Regions from separate parts of the Homo sapiens genome. Here region 2 is linked to region 1. The links are contacts of gene promoters, found by promoter capture Hi-C in human tissues and cell types (Jung and others, 2019). All regions are on one chromosome and are shown on one strand. The core of a region is centred on a gene start or on the middle of the fragment in contact, and the rest is flanking DNA. Distances in the headings are between cores, read along the strand shown.

Region 1 (5,052 bases), core at 1,253-3,752:
AAGCTCCAGTTTCCTCTAAGTGTGCCTTTATGATCCGCACTGGCGACAGCAGGCTTTGTCTTTCCTTAGAAAGACTTTGTGCCTGTTCTCACTTGACCAGATATCGTGTACGGAGCACTTGCTGGCAGTAGGCCAAGCTCTGCACATTCATGAATTGCTTTGTCTCACAACACCCTGAGCCGTAGGTATCTTTATTGACCATATTTTCCAGATGAAGAGACGAAAGCCCAAGAGAACCCTGTTAATGCTCGGCCAGATCAGAGGAGACAAAACAAGCACCCCTGCCTTCATGGGTTGTGTGGATGAATGAGGGTCGGCCTAGGGCTGTCCCCTCGCGGTCTGTCCGGTCTGTCGGTACAGGCAGCAGATGGGCCACTTGTTCCTGGAATTGCAGAAGCAGATAACCAAGTGTAGAAAATGTATGTATCCCTCTTCTACCCCAACAGAAGCACCGTCTTTTTGCTTTTTCTTTTTTTTTTTAGTTACAGATATGATAGGTAGGTTTTTTTCTATGGTGTAAGCATTTCTGCTGTTGGATTTTGTTTGCTGTTTGAAGACCTGCCTAACTCGTCTCAGTAGGCTGTATAAATCGTTTAATGAAGATTGGCCCTTTTCTGAAGTGAGAAAAAGGATGGTTGCTGAAGAACCTATCTCGAGAATACACTATTGACAGACTCACGGTGTCTGTGTGTCTCACATCCTGGAATTACTTGCACACCATTGTGGCTATGTGTTATATCCCAGAATATGGAATTGATTTTGATGTTTAGAAGGCCAAAGCTTACTTAGTAAATGCCACACTGATTTTAGCTTACCATTTTGTAGTTTTTTTCTGTGGGAAATAACAAAAAAATTATTGATTGAGGATCTATATTGATTTTACAGAGCTATTTTAGAGGAAGTATTTCTCATTTAATGAACACTTTACATTGGACTTTCCATCTTAACAAGACACTGCCCCAGGTGGAACTCTGTCTTCACAACACCTGAGCTGCCCAGTGGTGTCAGATTGACTGGTGTCAGTTTAACCCCGTTAAGTTTAAAGGATCTGTGCACCCTCATCTGGAAGCAAAGCTCCGCCTTCGGCTGCTGTGGCCCGCCTGCCCGCAGAGAGGCTTGCTGGGAGGTCCAGGCCGCAGTTCCCGTCCAGCTCCTGGAGTCAGAGCTGCAGGATGGCTGTTGGGGGTCCTTGAAGCCTGTCCAGATGCACTTGGGATGGGTTTTTTTGTTTTGTCCAGACTGTTTCTGTAGATTCCTAATATAATGAGCCATTATAATTTTGAACAATTTGTAAAGAGTACTTCCAGAGGAACCTGTTAACCATTCAACCATTAGGTCTTTGCTGTAAGTGTCTGTTTTTAATTTTCTGGCAGTGCTTCTGAGAATTCTGCAAAGCCTCAAGAAAAAATAGAGTAAGCTGTCTTAGCCAGGCCCCTGTAGCTTTGGTCACAGCACTTCCTGGTGTGACAAGGACTCAGACCCCCCGGGAGCCCCTTGGCTATCCTCAGCACTGTTTATTCCTCCTCAGGCTCTGCCTGGCACCCTACCCTCCCTGGCACTCTTTCTTTGTCAGGCCACTCGTTGCCACCCTGAGACTCCAGCTCATGTCTGATTTGTGCATCCTACTTAACTGATGTGTTTTTCCTCCTCTCTGTGTGTGAGGATGTTGTCACCACCTCACATTGGCTCTTGAGTGTGAAGTGTCTTGCTGCACGGCAGAAACAGACCTAGAGAAGTCCCTTGGTTTGGCCAGTATTGTGTTGCTGACAGGCGGTGGATCAAGAGTTAAAATGTAGGAAGTCCATGTTCTGTCCCCTTTGACAAGCCATTTTCTTAATCTGTACAAAGGGAACAATGTCTGCACCACGAGGTTGGGGAGATTTTCAGTGAGAGTGGATGTGAAGAGTGTTTCGTAAACCATAAAGCAGTTTATTGTCATTGATGATTCTCAGCTTTGCATGAACCTGAGGGACACCAGACCACTTGCTCTAGGAGCCCATATTCTGGGTTCTTTGTCCTAAACTACTTTTTGGGCCTTTTCCTAAAAATACACATTCTAAGAGTCAAGGTAAGAGTGTTCCTAATTTGGTGCATGGATGAGAGTTCATGTTAGTTTTCATTGAGGCTGGAAGTTAAACCTGAGCCATTTTCCTGTCCAGCTGCACTTTGCCACAGGCTGGGCACACTGGCTCATACCTGTAATCCTAGCACTTTGGGAGACTGAGGAGGATTACTTAAGACCACGTGTTCAAGACCAGCCTAGGAGTATAGTGAGGTGCCATCTCTTTTAATTTTTAAAAAATAGTCCTAGTGACTCTTACCAGGCCAGTCACCATCTCCAGGAGCCCCCCTGTGGGAGTATGTTCAGTGTCTGCCCTTTGTGAAGTGGGGCCTTTTGTCCCGCCACCTACCCCCAGGGCACTTAAGGCCTGGGTGTGTTTCTGCCGGCAGGGACTTGAAGGTGTCTGGCAGTGAAGGAAGGAGAGGATGAAGGGAGGCTGGAGAGGGAGTGGCGAGCGGCCAGAGGCAGGCGGGGCCGTGGGAAGGGAAAGCAGCACAGGCAAGCTGAGTGCACATTGGTGATGAGATACAGAGATCCATGATTGAACTTCTAGTGTATCTTAGCCCACTGGGGCTGCCATGACAAAACACCATAGAGTGTGGCTCATCAACAGCAGGAGTCTGTTGCTCACAGCTCTGGAGGCTGGAGGTCCAGGGTCAAGGCACTGGCAGATTGCATGTCTGGTGGGGCCCCGCTTCCTGGTCCATAGCCAGCACCTTCTCACTGCATCCTTATGTGGTGGAAGAGGCAGGGGAGCTCTCTGGGGTCTCTTTTGTAACCCCATTCTTGAGGCTTGTCCACTCTCATGACCTAATCACCTCCCAGAGGCCCTGCCTCCTAACACCATTACCGTAGAGTGAGAGCTTCAGCCTATGAATTTTGGGGGGACATGAACATTCAAGACTAATATTCTTTCAGTATTCCAGTTACTGAATGGTGTGTAGTATTCAGTGGAGAAGGTAGCTGAAATTAAGGGGTTAAAATTGTAATAATGGCCGGTTGCGGTGGCTCACGCCTGTAATCCCGGCACTTTGGGAGGCTGAGGCCAGTGGATCACAAGGTCAGGAGTTCGAGATCAGCCTGACCAACATGGTGAAACCCCGTCTCTACTAAAAATACAAAAAATTAGCTGGGCGTGGTGGCACACGCCTGTAATCCCAGCTACTCAAGAGGCTGAGGCAGGAGAATCGCTTGAACCTGGGAGGCAGAGGCTGCACTGCTGAGCTAAGATCGTGCCACTGCACTCCAGCCTGGGCGACAGAGCGAGACTCCATCTCAAAAAAAAAAAAAAAGGTAATAATTAAATTGGCCAGCATTTTTAAAGTTTTCCTTAGCAGATCTGTACAGACTCACTAGATAGTGTTTTATTTTTAAAGAAGATTAACACGTGCTGGCAGGACCACTGCAGACAAATGGTAAGCTTGTTCACTTTTTCATCAAAACACGACCTCATCCATCTTCCCTCACCCACATGATTGAGAGCTGAGACATAGAAGTTCTGTTGAGGATTCTGTCTGTGTTCAGTGCTGTGGTTGAACAGCACGATGAGAAAAGCAGGGAAGGTGAACTCCTCAGCTCCTGTGAGAGGGCACCACTGACCCTCTTGGCCTTCAGGTCCACAGTCACAGTCCGCAGTGGTGACAGGGTTCTTAGATGCCTGCATGGGTCTCTAAATGTCTCTTTAAGCACAGTTTACTCCTCAGAATCTAGCCTGAATCCCAGGTCTTTCCTGCAGCTGCACAACCAGCGTCTTAGGCTTTGTAGATGTCTTGGCTTTGACTTGACGTCATGTATACATTTTTAGTGTGACCTGGCCGTTAATTACTTAAGTGAGAGAACAGACCGTATTAATAGCTTTCCTAAGTAGGTTGAAATCTTCCGTTTTCTAAATGATATCAGTAGGAGACGATGGGTGTATTTCTTTTCTGGGCCAGGTAGCTGGCAGCTGCTAGAGCTCGCTGAGGGTCTGTTGGGAAGGGTTTGGTGAGATGCGTTCACAAGTCTCCCCAGCCAGGTAGTGGGCTCGATGGTAGGAGCACAGGACAGGACCAGGGATCATCCTGCATCCCTCACTCTGCTCGCAACGCAGAGTCAGAGACACACGTCCAAGAGCCTCATCATGTAACAGGAACTCAGGTTTTAAAAGCTAAGTGCATCTCCCTAATCTAGTAAGAAGTAGCACATCAGTCAAAAAAATGACCAAATTTAGGCCGGGCGCGGTGGCTCACGCCTGTAATCCCAGCTCTTTGGGAGGCCGAGGCGGGCGGATCACGAGGTCAGGAGATCGAGACCATCCTGGCTAACACGGTGAAACCACGTCTCTACTGAAAATACAAAAAAAAAAAAAATTAACCGGGTGGGGTGGTGGGCGCCTGTAGTCCCAGCTACTCGGGAGGCTGAGGCAGGAGAATGGTGTGAACCCAGGAGGCGGAGCTTGCACATCACGCCACCGCACTCCAGCCTGGGCGACAGAGCGAGACTCCGTCTCAAGACAAAAAAAAGAAAAATGACCAAATTTAAAAGATATCCTTTAGGCCTTGGCTGAACACAGGATCTCTTTAAAAAGAAAAAAAAGATACCATTTTAGGCTAAGTGCGTTAAAATTCCTACAGTCAGATTTACAATATTAAAGAGATGGAAATCACATACCAAGGGGACAAAATTAACTTTAGAAAAAAAAAATAAAACATGAGGGCTGTGGTGGACAGGAAACAGCTGTTGGATTTGAGACAGCTAGCATGGAGTTAAAAGGCCTGATCTTTCATATTTTGCTAGTAGAATTCATAAGTAAATGGTTCTCCTTTCTGCTGGTCAGATCATGATCAGAAGCATCTTCCTGTTCTTGGACCGCACCTATGTGCTGCAGAACTCCACGCTGCCCTCCATCTGGTGAGTGTCCTCACAGCGCAGAGCTGCGTCTTCCCTGCAGCTGATGCTTTTCGTCCCGTTTGTGTCTTCCGCAGGCTAAGATGGTAAAGTGTGTGTGATTA
Region 2 (5,052 bases), core at 1,098-3,597, 100 kb before region 1:
CTCAGAGAGTGGACTCGATGCCATCCCTGCAGGGCCGTCCTGGGCACCACTGGCACTCACAGCAGCAAGGTGGGCACCATTGGCACTCACAGCAGCAAGGCAGGCACCAGCAACCCACCTCGGGGGCACTCAGGCATCATCTACTTCAGAGCAGACAGGGTCTATGAACTACAGCCGTGGGCTGCTTCCAAGGCACCCTGCTCTTGTAAATAAAGTTTTATGGGAACACACCCATATTAGTGTCCATGGAGTGGCCGTGGCAGAGACGTCCAGCCGGACAGACCAGCTGACCCGCCAAGCCCAGCATGGTTAGTGTCAGGACCTCTGCTGAAGATGCTTGCTGACCCTGGCCAGACCCCGGTTCCTAATGCCCCCTAAACGGGACGGGAGCCAGTGGCGGGCCCTGATCCAGGTCAGAGCTGGCTCTGCTTTCTCTTTTGTCCGAGTGACCATGCCTCAGTTTCCTCATGTGTAAAACAGGAGCCCACCGTGATGCTTATGGTGGGATGAGATCAGCATGGATGGAACAAGGCCCTGGAAGGGCCCATGCCATGGTCATCGACAGCAAAGCCACTCTGCAGACAGATGCTTCAGTGAATTGGTAGAAAATTCTGCAACCAGAATGCCCGGGGCTCCTGAGGGCCTAAGCCCAGCCCAGGGTTCTGGAAGCCACTCTGACTTCTTGGGAGTGGAAGTTGGCAGGACTCTTCCTGGGAAGAAGCGGAGGGTGGGGATGAGAGGACAGTTCAGGAGCCCACCCAGACCCACAGGAGGAAACTAGGGGAGTCATGCGGGGTCCTGGTGGAGCGCCAGCCTCCCTTCCTGCCAATGGGAAATGCAGGCGCCCACCTCATGGTGCTGCCGGAGGAGGGGGCCCGGGACTCCCCAGAGGCTTCGCTGAAGGGCCTGGGCGCCCCCAAAGGCTACATGTTTCATATGGGACGTGCCACCTGCCACGGCTCAGCTCCAGCTTTCTGTGAGTGGCGAGATAGAATACGGGGAGGCCACTGGCCATGGGCCTGGGACAGGGTGGGATGAGGCGGCAGGCTTGGGCCACCAAAGCCAGCATCGCCACCCAGCATTGATGACAAAGACTGCGTGTCTGCCATGAGCATCCTGCTGTTGGTGCACACACCGCATTGGTCTCTCCATACAAACATGCCTAGAGGCGATGTCAGAGGGTGGAGACCAGGAGAGGCAGGAGTCAGACATCTGGTGCCACCAGGAAGGCCCTTCTCAGAGGACCAGGCTGTGCGTGGTGCCCGCCGTGGGAGGCCAGCCTGGCGTTGGCATCCAGCATCATCAGTTTGTGCAGTCGGGTGGGGCTCAGTGAGTGCCTCCTGTGTGCCAGGCACAATGACGCACAATGTGTGCACACCAGGCTCATGTGCAGGTGGCTGCGAGACAGGGCGACCCATCAAGGCAGATGCACCATGAGGCAGTGGCCAGTGCTGTGGGTGTTAGGGGCATTGCTCCCCGGCCACTACGGCATAGCAGGCAGTGATCGCCACACTGGCCAAGCTTTAGACCATTTATTCCAGAGACCCCAGAGGCAAAAAGCCCGGCTGCACCTCCCAGTGACTCCCACAGCCATTGAGCAGAGACACTCAGGACCTTGTGATGGGAGGTTTCTGCACTGGAGAACGAGCCCAGAAGCCCTCTCAGCCTCGGAACAGTGTGGCCAGTGGTGGGCAGGTCAGGAGGGGCTTCAGACACAGCCTGTCCCTCCAGATGGTCACGGGAAGGTCACTCCCCACAGAAGTACGTTTTGGGGCCATGCGGGCACAGAAGGTTTGGGGGTGGGTGGGGCAGGTGCCAGCCTGGCCTGTGGGAGGCCATGGTGCAGATGCCAAGCCCCCCCCGTGACATGAGACCACCTGATACCACCCAGAGAGTGGCTGTGAGCGGAAGGGCCCGCCCAGAAACAAGCAGGGCCTTGGGGCAGAAGTCCTGGGCTCAGATCCCACGCTCACTGCCAGCGGCCTCGGCTCAGGCTTCTGCGCTCTCTAAACTTAGTTTTCTCTTCTGGAAAAATGATGGGGAAAATGATATTTGTATGTGAGGACTGAGAGTTAAATGTAAACATCTGGAAACTACAAAATGAGCACGAAATGATGTTTTTATTCTTAGAACAGAAAGTCCCCACACCCGCGGCCCTGGTGACTGATGAGGATGAGGTTCTGCGGGGCCTCTCTGGCCGCCCAGCTCTGCCTGGGGAAGGTGGGGCCAGAGTGGATGTGTTCCCAGCGTGGTCACTCCCCTGCCTCGCCAGCAGGTCTCGGCTCCAATCAGGAGGCCTAAGCCAAGTGATAAGCAGCCAGACAACAGCCATCCCAGCTGGGGCGTGGACTTTGCTCCAGCAGCCTGTCCCAGTGAGGACAGGGACACAGTACTCGGCCACACCATGGGGCGCCCACTGCACCTCGTCCTGCTCAGTGCCTCCCTGGCTGGCCTCCTGCTGCTCGGGGAAAGTCGTAAGTGCCCCTCGCCCTTCAGACCCAAAAGCAGCGCCAGGGAGCAGGGAGGGGCGGCAGTTGGGGAAACCCTCTCATCTCTGCAGCCTGGACGGTGGGTGCCTTGAGTGCTGCCAGAGGCTGGGCTCGGATGGCTGGGCTTGGCCTTTCCAGCCAACGGCATCCTCAAGGCCAGCTGTGGCTCCCTGGGGCTGAGAGTCAGACGGGCGGATCAGAGGTCACAGAGACAAAAACACAAGGACAGAGTCAGAGAGAGAAAGGGAGAGGGAAGGAGAAACGGAGACACAGTGAGATGGGAGGCCAAGAGGCAGAGACAGAGGTAGAAAGACGGAGACAGAGAGAGAGGGAGGGGTTGGGGCAGGCAGAGACAGGACAGTTAGCCATCTGCCACCACAGGGAGGCACAGGACGAGGGGCACAGCAGAGGAGCTCCCAGGGAGGAGGAGGCTGAGCCGAGCCAGTGCCACCACTCTCGGACTGGCTCCGTCGGGGAAGGAGCTGCCTAATGCACAGCTGGACAGGTGGGGGCAGCAGGGCTGTCCAGGACCCCCGGGTCTGTCCAAAAGCAGAGGCCCAGACAGGACAGAAGCCAGGCAAGCCTGGGGACAGCGGAGGAAGAGGAGGCCCCTCTGGTGGGGACACGAGAGACAGGGACCCTAGACTTGTTTGCATCCTGGACAAAGTGGACAGGCAGGGGCACCAAGGGGACCCAGGCCTGGGAAGGGAATGTGTGAGGGAGAGACGGAGCAGGGGGAGACCCTCGTGGGGTGGAAAGGGGAGACCCCTGGGAAGGCTGAGTGGATCCTCAGTGCATCACTGACCTAAACGGCCCCTCCGCCTGGTGACTTGGAGCTCCAGTCACATCACACGGGGGTCTTCTCCATCCCACCCTCAACCCCCTGCCCTCCCCAGCCTCTGTCCCCTGAGCCACATCTTCCTGTCTCCCACGCGGAACGGGACTCCCGTCTTCATGGGGTACTGTGTGGCTCCAACTCGCCCAGCCTTCTTCCTCCCCCTCAGGCCACACTGCCCCCTGCAGGAGCCCACTGTGATGCTTGTGGTGGGATGAGATCAGCGTGGGTGGAACAAGGCCCTGGAAGGACCCATGCCATCATCATCGACAGCAAAGCTACTCTGCAAACAGACAGATGCTTCCGCGAATTGGTAGAAAATTCTGCAGCCGGAATGCTCTAGGATCCTGAGGCCCTAAGCCCGGCCCGGGGCTCCCGAGGCCCTAAGCCCGGCCCGGGACTCTGGAAGCTGCTCTGGCTTATTGGGAATGGAAGTTGGCAGGACTCCTCTTCCTGGGAAGAAGCAGAGGGTGGGGATGAGAAGACAGGCCAGGAGCCCACCCAGACCCACAGGAGGAAACTAGGGGAGTTATGCAGAGTCCTGGTGGAGCGCCAGCTTCCCTTCCTGCCAATGGGAAATGCAGGCGCCCACCTCGCGGACCTCTGGGTCCACAGGGTATTGGCACCCTTAGCTGTGTGATGCGGGCCTGGCTCATAACCATGGCCTGTGGTGTCCCCGGGGGCCGGCCTGGACCCTGGGTGGACATGGCCAGCCCCGGAGAGCCAGGGCCAGGCCATCTCTCTCCCCTACTCTGCCTCAGAGGCCTCGGCAGCTGCACTGTGGGGTGGGTGGGGCTGAACACAGGTCCCAGAAGGTCCCACTCAGGACCCTGCTGTGCACACTTTTGATTTTAATAAAATCAGAATGCGCACAGCATCTGCAGTCTAGCCTTTAAACGAGCACAGCTGTCCTGGCAGTCACGGAAGTTCTTCTGGGGCGGTGGGACCTCAGCATTCCTTTGCTGGTACTGCTACAAGAAAGGACAATGGACCAAGTAGCTTAAAGCAACAGAAACATTTCTCCCACAGCTCTGGAGGCTGGAAGTTCAAAATCAAGGCGTCAGCGGGGCTGGTTCCTCCAGAGGCTGGGAGAGAGTCTGCTCTAGGCCTGTTTCCTGGCCTCGGGGTGCCAGCGGCCTCACAGCCCATGGCTTGTGGGAGCATTGCTCCCATCGCTGCCTCCATCATCGCATGGGGTTCTCACCATGGCTGTTTTTCTGTCTTCTTTTCTCTCAGAAGGACACCAGTCATTGGATTTAGGGCTCACTCTACTCCCATAAAATGTCTTCCTAACTAAATACATCACAAAAGTTCTATTTCCAATTAAGGTCAGGTTCTGAGGTTCTGGGAAAGACATGAATTTGGAGGGACATTATTCAGCCCTGTCCTGCCACCTGTGAGTGTTTTCTGCAATCCAACTTTTTATTTTAATAAAATCAGAATACGCAGAGCACCTGCAGTGCCAGCCTTTAAACTACTGCTGTTGTACTGGCAATCATTAAAGCTACGTGGCTTCAGTTTCAATCTTTACATTCAACAAGTTTAAACCCATTCTTCATGAGTTTGGACCTTACTGACTGAAAATTTTGCTTGCTGGTAAAACTTGCTCAAATGCAGTTGCTGACTGTGGAATTCACTGATGTTGCCAAAACAACAAACACAACTGTGTGCTCGAGGATTGCAATGCTCCCAACAGCTTCTGAAGAAACAAACCACACGACAAATGTC

The links. The method cuts DNA at HindIII sites, captures the fragments that hold promoters and counts their contacts. A contact is called where the count stands out against the background at its distance.
Region 2: a contact is called between the fragment with the promoter of F10 here and a fragment that was not itself captured in region 1, in 3 of the 25 tissues and cell types used here (IMR-90 fibroblasts, dorsolateral prefrontal cortex and heart left ventricle).

What each region holds. Positions count from the first base shown.
Region 1 is chr13:113,224,569-113,229,620 of GRCh38, forward strand. CUL4A (cullin 4A) reads left to right here. Exons shown (of 20, transcript NM_001008895.4): 4 at 3,408-3,477; 5 at 4,878-4,951. Among named protein-coding and RNA genes, the nearest start is that of CUL4A, 17 kb to the left of the region's middle. The HindIII fragment of the contact is 5,587 bases long and covers 1-5,052 here.
Region 2 is chr13:113,120,452-113,125,503 of GRCh38, forward strand. F10 (coagulation factor X) reads left to right here and starts at 2,348. Exons shown (of 8, transcript NM_000504.4): 1 at 2,348-2,474. The coding sequence starts at 2,405. It overlaps F7 (coagulation factor VII), which reads left to right. Exons shown (of 8, transcript NM_019616.4): 8 at 1-234. The HindIII fragment of the contact is 14,274 bases long and covers 1-5,052 here.